Regions from separate parts of the Homo sapiens genome. Here region 2 is linked to region 1. The links are contacts of gene promoters, found by promoter capture Hi-C in human tissues and cell types (Jung and others, 2019). All regions are on one chromosome and are shown on one strand. The core of a region is centred on a gene start or on the middle of the fragment in contact, and the rest is flanking DNA. Distances in the headings are between cores, read along the strand shown.

What was found. The method cuts DNA at HindIII sites, captures the fragments that hold promoters and counts their contacts. A contact is called where the count stands out against the background at its distance.
Region 2: a contact is called between a fragment that was not itself captured here and the fragment with the promoter of EIF4EBP1 in region 1, in 3 of the 25 tissues and cell types used here (IMR-90 fibroblasts, bladder and liver).

Annotation. Positions count from the first base shown.
Region 1 is chr8:38,028,784-38,033,224 of GRCh38, forward strand. It overlaps EIF4EBP1 (eukaryotic translation initiation factor 4E binding protein 1), which reads left to right and starts at 1,751. Exons shown (of 3, transcript NM_004095.4): 1 at 1,751-1,935. The coding sequence starts at 1,791. RefSeq lists a silencer at 1,532-1,971 and enhancers at 1,548-1,842, 2,472-2,571. The HindIII fragment of the contact is 9,944 bases long and covers 1-4,441 here.
Region 2 is chr8:37,910,759-37,914,624 of GRCh38, forward strand. No RefSeq gene overlaps it. Among named protein-coding and RNA genes, the nearest start is that of RAB11FIP1, 13 kb to the left of the region's middle. RefSeq lists an enhancer at 1-120. The HindIII fragment of the contact is 7,181 bases long and covers 1-3,866 here.

The DNA.
Region 1 (4,441 bases), core at 501-3,000:
CCCAGGTTCAAGCAATTCTCCTGCCTCAGCCTCCCGAGTAGCTGGGACTACAGGCATGCGCCACCATGCCCAGCTAATTTTTTTTATATTTTTAGTAGAGACAGGGTTTCACCATGTTGTCCAGGATGGTCTCGATCTCTTGACCTCATGATCCGCCTGCCTCGGCCTCCCAACGTGTTGGGATTACAGGCGTGAGCCACTGCGCCTGGCCCAAAATTAATTTTTATAATGTATTTTTCTTAACCCAGTATACTCAAAATATTATCAGTTCAACATACAATCAATATAGAAACAAATTATTCAGGTATTTTACATGATTTTCTTCACACTAAGTCTTTGAAATATGGTGTGTATGTTAAACTTGTGACAGTTTGGACTGGTCACATTTGGAGTGCTCAATGTGCACCTGTAGCTGGTGGCTACTGTCTTAGCCACTGTAGGCCTAAAGTTTCCCTCAAAAGTGAGACCAAACTCAACAGGTCTCCCTATCTCAGGCCTTGCCCTCCTTGGCCCATTCTGAAACTCCACTGGCTACTAGTTATCCTTCCAAAAAACAACTCAAATCATGTCATCCCCCTGCTTAAAAGATCTCTGATATCTCCTGCCCTTCTAAGACAAAGTCCAAGCACTTTGGCATAATTTGAAAAACTCAACGACCTGACCCCAATTTCCTTTTTAAAAAATTATTATATATTTTTTTAGAGATAGGGTCTCTGTCACAAAGGGTGGAGTGCAGTGGTGTGATCACAGCTCACTGGAGCCTCAAACCCCTGGGCTCAAGCATCCTCCAGCCTCAGCTTCCTGAGTAGCTGGGATTACAGGTGCACCACCCAATTTCCCTTTTAAACTGCCCTCCCCTCTTCACCCTCTTCCCCACAATATGTGCCCATAATGCTAAGAACTTCTCAAACCCAACAAGCTTTTCCATCCTCGGTCCTTCTTGCATTTTTCTCTCTCCCCTTGAACATCCATCCATCCATCCATCCATCCATCCATCCATCCATCCATCCAAGGAGTACCTACTAAACCTCAGGTGGACGTTGGACTCAATTCAGGGGCTATCGGGAAACCTCTTCGACACTCTTACTCCTCTCCAACGCCCTTCCCCACCACCCACCTCTGCGCCCCCAGCTCTAAATTTAGCTCCCAGGACGCCGCTGGTTGGTTCACTCCTCCTCCCACACCCTCTCTAAAGGCCGGGAACGGAATTGTTAGCCCCTCCACCCCCACCCCCATCAAGGTCAAGAAATTGAAGCGGGGCGGGGGGCGGTGAGCATAACTACTCAATCCCCATTTTCTCATCTGAGGAACTAAGGCACGAAACAGGGAGTGCCGAAGGGTACACCAGGCCTGATGTCCTAATGCAGAAACCGGGCCTTCCTGCAGTGGGCCGGGTCAGCTCGGATCTCCGCGCGGTCCTGAGTCGCCGCCCCCAACCCAGCCAAGGATTAATTTAGGCGAGCTATCCCGCCCGCCATCCCCATATCCGTCCCTGCCAGCGTGGCGGGGAGGGACCCCGGACGGAGGGGCAGTCGCTGCGGGGCGGCGCCAGCGCCCGTGCGGAAGAGCCCGTGAGCAGACGGGAGTGGGTCGGGGGGCGGCGGGGGATCCCACGTGGAAGCAGCGTCCTGGAGCTGGGTGGGGCTGCGGCGCGGACTACAAATCCCAGGGGCGTGGGGCGGGAGAGGCGGAAGGGGCGTCCTGGGGCGGGGCGGCACGGGGCGAGGCGGAGCGAGGCTGGAGGCGCGGGAGGGCAGCGAGAGGTTCGCGGGTGCAGCGCACAGGAGACCATGTCCGGGGGCAGCAGCTGCAGCCAGACCCCAAGCCGGGCCATCCCCGCCACTCGCCGGGTGGTGCTCGGCGACGGCGTGCAGCTCCCGCCCGGGGACTACAGCACGACCCCCGGCGGCACGCTCTTCAGCACCACCCCGGGAGGTAGGCGCGGGCTTGGCGACGCCGCTTGCCGGCTCCTGGGCGGGCGGGAGGATCGGGAATCGCGGATTGGACCGGGTGTCCAGGCTCAAGGGCGCCGTGATTGGAAAGAACGGAAAAGGGGCATCGGAGAGACAGCGAGGGTCATGGAAGTGGCCGCCCGCTTCCCCTCTGAGTGCGTCTTCCAGACCCGAGTTACAAACTGCCCCGTTTGTTTCCTCTTTCTGTTAGGTGTCAGACAGCTGACACCTAACAAACACGCACGCCTCCAGGACAGCCACATGCCGAGCTGTGCTGCCCCTTGTGGGTGTTGGGGGCGCTCCCGAAGCGGGAGAGGGCGGAGTTAGGGTGGCCCACGATCCAGGAGAGGCCTGGCCTGGTGTTTTTATGGGATGGGTATTATCTGTTGGGATAAACGATTCCTGCAGGGCCCTTTTTCCTTCCCGAAGCACGCCGAGTTTTGTGTTGGACTCGCGCGCTCTGACTGAGGTTCGGATCTGGGGGTGCTTGCCTGCTCCAGCAGCGCCTCCCGGGCACCTGTGGCACGTTCCCCATTTACGCGAGTGGGATCTCCGCGGGGGGGACCCTGGCGCCACGGCCAGGGCTGTGCAGAAAAACACGTTCTTCTGTCCGGGGAGAGGAGGAGGCACCGTGTGACCTCCCTGGGAGAGGATGAGGAAGAGGAAGCTGAGCTGGCACGGGTGGGGGGGCCAGCCTCGGGCTGCCCTCAGGAACCTGGCATTCCCTCCCAGCCCCGGAGCCCCAGCGCACAGACGCTGATGAAACCTACGCGCCTGTTTGCATGATGAAATAAATCCTCGTGGCTCTCTCCTCCCCTCTCATTGTCGCACTGCCCCCACCCCTTTTTGCTCCTCTCCCTTCATTCTCCTCCACGCTGCTTTCCATACTACTAGAAAACGCGACAGATCCTGGCGCTTGGCTAGGTGGCGGGCGGGGGCCACATGCTTATTTTCTCAGGCAGCTGTCCCACCAGCAGCGAGCGCGGCCAGATCCGAGGTCCTCTGCTGTTTGATCCAAAACATACACTGTTAGAACGGTTAGGGATCTTGTCCAGCCCTGCCGTCTTATTCTACAGAGCCCGGCATTGAGGCCCCAGAGCTTGAACACGTGTCTGTTGCCCATTGTCACACCGTTTTCCCAGATTGGACAAGAAATAGCAACCAGGCAGAGAAGGGAGAAATGCTTCCTTTTCTATTAGAAATGAGCCAAGGAAAAGCTCGCAGGGGCTCTTGTTGCCATTCCCGACTCATCCTCTTTCCCTTGCTGGGTCTTTTGTAGTCCATGCTGTTCTCCTTTGTCTCTGTCACAATGGTCTACCAGGACAATTCCTGACAATTTTGGAGTTCTTTCAAATGAGGGTGTAAGTGTCTGCTGGATTTGTTCAGGGTGGGCCCTGAGGCCGGCCTGAAGGCGCAGGTAGCCCTTTTTTGCACTCTTTATTGCTGGATTGTTGGGTCAAATTGGAAGCCAGGATACTGTTTATAGGCACTTCTGGCCCGGGTACCAAGGTTCACACCTGTAATGCCAGCATTTTGGGGAGCCAAGGCAGGAGAATTGCTTGAGGCCAGGAGTTCAAGACCAGCCTGGGCAACATAGTGAGACTCCATCTCTACAAAGAAACAAACAAAACAACAACAAAATGTTGTCCTAGCTACTACAGAGGCTGAGGCCAGAGGATCGCTTGAGCCCAGGAGTTGGAGGCTGTAGTGAGCTATGATTGACCACTGCACTCCAGCCTGGGTGACAGAGCGAGACCCTATCTCTAAAATAAATAATAAATATAAAATATAGGAACTTCAAATCCACTTTTCACTTTGGGTTGGGAAGTGGGGAGTGGGCAGGGGGCTGACAGACCACAGCAAATCCCCTTCCCTTTGAAGGTCTTTAGCAGTAGGGGGAGTGGGGAAGGGACTTCTGCATCAGGGCATAGCATATGTTTCTGAGATCACTGGAAGAAGCTAGCAGTGCCAGGAGCCTAAAGCCAGCTCACTGTTTGGTCGTCCAGTGGAGCAGGTACAGCTCACAGTCCCTAAGCCAGGGAAACCTGGCTGACTTCCACTAAAGTCAAGCAAGCCTGGTCGGCCTCGATTAGCCAAGGTGTGGACTCTTCCTCCAAAGCCCACCTCAGCCCACCTCTGCCAGGGCAGAGAAGCCAAAATGGTCACATTGCAGCCAAAATGGTCACACCCTTTTGCTCCAGAGCAGAATACTGCCTCTCAGTCTTCCAGGTGCTTGAGGATAACTGGGGGCTTCATTTAAGTGCATATTCTGATTCTGTAGGTGGGGGTGGGAACTAGATTCAGCATTTCTTTCTTTTCTTTCTTTCTTTTTTTTTTTTTTTTTTTTGAGACAGGGTCTCACTCTATCACCCAGGCTGGAGTGCAGTGGCGCAATCTCAGCTCACAGCAACCTCCACCTCCTGGGTTCAAGCAATCCTCCCACCCCAGCCTCCCCAATAACTGGGACAACAGGCATGCACCACCCATGC
Region 2 (3,866 bases), core at 264-2,763, 120 kb before region 1:
TAGTAACACAAGCAGATGAAGACATTTAGTATTGTCTTTTGCATTTCACCCTTCTGGCGGCTGTGCAATAGTTTTAATTTTTATTTCCCTGGTGACTAATGAGGCTGTATGCTTTTTCTTAAGCTTTTTCACCATTTGGATATGGTTTTCTCGTGATGGGCCTACTCATATCTTTGGCCCATTTTTCTTCTGTCTTTGTATTGATTTGTAGATGTCATTACAAAGATAGAGATATCAAGTCTATAATGTAATGCAAGTATCCTCTCCCACTCTGTGGCATGCCTTTTCACTCTCTTAGTGGTGTTTCTTGATGAAAAGCAGTCTTAATTTTAATGACACCCAAATGATCAATCTTTTCTTTTATGGTTAGTGCTTTAAGTCCTTTCTAAGAAATCATTGCTGTCTCAAAGTCATGAATATATTCTCCTTTATTGTCTTATAAAAGCATTTTGGTTTGCCTTCCACCTTTATATTAGCAATCCACCTAATTTTTTGTATTATTCAAAGTTAATTTTTTTGAGACAGGGTCTTGCTCTGTCACCCAGGCTGCATGATCATGGCTCACAGCAGCCTCAACCTCCCAGGCTCAAGTGAGCCTCCTACCTCCGCCTCCCAAGTGTTAGTAGCTGGGACTATAGGCATGAGCCACAATGCTTGGCTAATTTTTGTAGTTTTTGTAGGTGTAGGGTTTCTCCACATTGCCCAGGTTAGTCTCAAACTCTTGAGCTCCAGTTATCCACCTGCCTCGGCCTCCCAAAGTTCTGGGATTACAGTGTGAGCCACTGTGCCTGGCCAAAAGTTAATTTAATTTTATTTTTTTTGAGATGGAGTCTTGCTCTGTCACCCAGGTTAGAGTGCAGTGGCTCCATCTCGCCTCACTGCAACCTCTGCCTCCTGGGTTCAAGCAATTCTCCTGTCTCAGCCTCCCGAGTAGCTGGGATTACAGGCATGAGCCACCACGCCTGGCTAATTTTTGTATTTTTAGTAGAGATGGGGTTTCGCCATGTTGGCCAGGCTGGTCTCGAACTCCTGACCTCAGGTGATCCACCCCCCTCGGCTTCCCAAAGTGCTGGGATTACAGGCGTGAGCTACTGCGCCCAACCCAAAAATTAATTTTTTAAAAAACATAAAATTATGAACTTTCATACAGACATAAAAATAAACATGTTAAAATTTTATTACACTTATTATTAAGAAAAACTAGTAAGGTGTTACAACCAGTTCAAAGGTGAATCCAAAGAATAGACGCATTTAGAGACCAGAAATATTGAAATGAATATGCAAATGGAGGCAAAGCTTGTTTTTCTGGAGGAGGGGGCAGGGAGTGTCCCTCCACTAGACAATTTGCTTTTATGAATTTTGCATTGCTTTCAATTGTCTACCAGACACAGAGCTGTAAAATAGCTATCATAGAATCAAAATCAGATAATCCAGAGAATGTACTATAGATAATGCAATTTTCCACTGAAGCACAAAATTTTCCCTACCATATAGTATCTGTTGGGATCAAGATTCATTTTTCCCCATATGAATACTGAAGGAACCCAAAAGATTTCACTCCGAAATATACTTTGACATTTAAAAAAAATTTTTTGAGACAGGGTTTCACTCTGTCACCCAGGCTGGAGTGTAGTGGCACCATCACTCACTGCAACCTCCGCCTCCCAGGTTCAAGTGATTCTCCCGCCTCAACCTCCTGAGTAGTTGGGAGTACAGGCGTGCACCACCACACCTGGCTAATTATCATTATCATTTTTTTTTTTTTTTGAGATGGAGTCTCGCTTTTTTTGTCGTTGCCCATGCTGGAGTGCAGTGGCACAATCTTGGCTCACTGCAACCTCCGCCTCCTGGGTTCAAGCGATTCTCCTGCCTCAGCCTCCCAAGTAGCTGGGATTACAGGCATGAGCCACCACACCTGGCTAATTTTTGTATTTTTAGTAGAGATGGGGTTTCACCATATTGGCCAGGCTGGTCTTGAATACCTGACCTCAGGTGATCCGCCAATCTCGGCCACCCAAAGTGCTGGGATTACAGGCATGAGCCACTGCGCCAGGCCTAATTTTTGTATTTTTAGTAGAGACAGAGTGTCACCATGGTGGCCAGGCTAGTCTCGAACTCCTGGCCTCAAGTGATCCACCTGCCTTGGTCTCCCCAACTGTTGGGATTACAGGCATAAGCCACCGGGCCCGCCTTAAATTTTTTCTGAGACAGCATCTCTCTCTGTCCCCCAGGCTGGAGGGCAGAGATGCGATCACAGCTCACTATGGGCTCCAGCAATCTTCCCACCTCAGCCTCCCAAAATATTGGAGTTACAAGCATGAGCTACCACATCCGGCCTAGTCTGACATATTTTGAGATGGTTGTTCAGAGGACCTGTGGACAGAAGGAGTCCTACCAAGCTGTCTTTTTCTTTTTTTTTTTGAGATGGAATTTCACTCTGTTGCCCGGGCTGGAGTGCAGGGACACCATCTAGGCTCACTGCAACCTCCCCCTCCTAGATTCAAGCAATTCTCCCTGCCTCAGCATCCTGACTGGCTGAGATTATGGTGCCCTCCGCCACACCTGGCTAATTTTTGTATTTTTAGTAGAGATGAAGTTTCACCATGTTGGTCAGGTTGGTCTTGAACTCTTTTTTTTTTTTTTTTTTTGAGACAGTTTCACTCTTGTTGCCTAGGCTGGAGTGCAATGGCGCAATCTCGGTTCACCGCAACCTCCACCTCCTGGGTTTTCAAGCAATTTTCCTGCCTCAGCCTCCCGAGTAGCTGGGATTACAGGCATGTGCTACCACACCCAGCTAATTTTGTATTTTTAGTAGAGACAGAGTTTCTCCATGTTGGTCAGGCTGGTCTCGAACTCCCGACCTCAGGTGATCTGCCTGCCTCAGCCTCCCAAAGTGCTGGGATTACAGGCGTGAGCCACCGCGCCCGGCCTTGGTCTCGAACTCTTAACCTCAAGTGATCTGCCTGCCTAGACCTCCCAAAGTACTGGGATTACAGGGATGAGCCACCGCGCCCAACCCCAAGCTGTCTTTTGTCGGGGAGATTTGCATCTGTTGAGAATCTGCGTGATGCAGCCAGGCTTTCTCTGAGATCCTCCCTTGCCTGGATCCAGGAAAGATGAACTGAGAGTCTGACACCATTAAAGGTCTGAAAGAAACATTTACCACCTATTCTCTCTGAAGGCTCCAACCTGTGAGATCCCCTCCATATAACAAGACACCTTTGCTAGCCAGTCCTCTCTTCTCTCCCTCCCATAAACTATTTTGCCATGAATCCAAGCCCCTATTCTTTCTGTAACTTCAAGATAGTATAAAAGCATCAATGACATTTTTCTTTGAGATCTTATATTTTGATAAGATTCCTGTTCACGTTAAAAACATTTGTGGGCCATTTCTCTTCCTAATCTGCCTTTTGTGAGTTGGTTTTTCAGCGGGTAGAGGGAAAGTTTTTCCTCAGCTCCTACAATATCCCATAGACCCAGTGCCATTTATTGAATGACCCAGCTTTCCCCTATGGGCCCGTCAATATCATGTTTCTGAACTCTATTCTGTTCCCTGGTCTATTTCATTATTACTGAACCAATACCATACTGTCTTAATTACCACAGTTTCATGACACATCTTAATATCTAGTAGTGTAAAGTCTTCAGCTTTGTACTTCCTCTGTCAAGATTTACCAGCTATTCTTAGACCTCTGCATTTCTTTTTTTCATTTTTTTCTTTTTTCTTTCTTTCTTTTTTTTTTTTTTCTTTTCGAGACAGGGTCTCATTCTGTCACCCAGTCCAGGGTAAAGTGGCACAATCTCGGCTCACTGCAACCTCATCCTCCGGGACTCAAGCAATCCCCCTGTTTCAGCCTCCCGAGTAG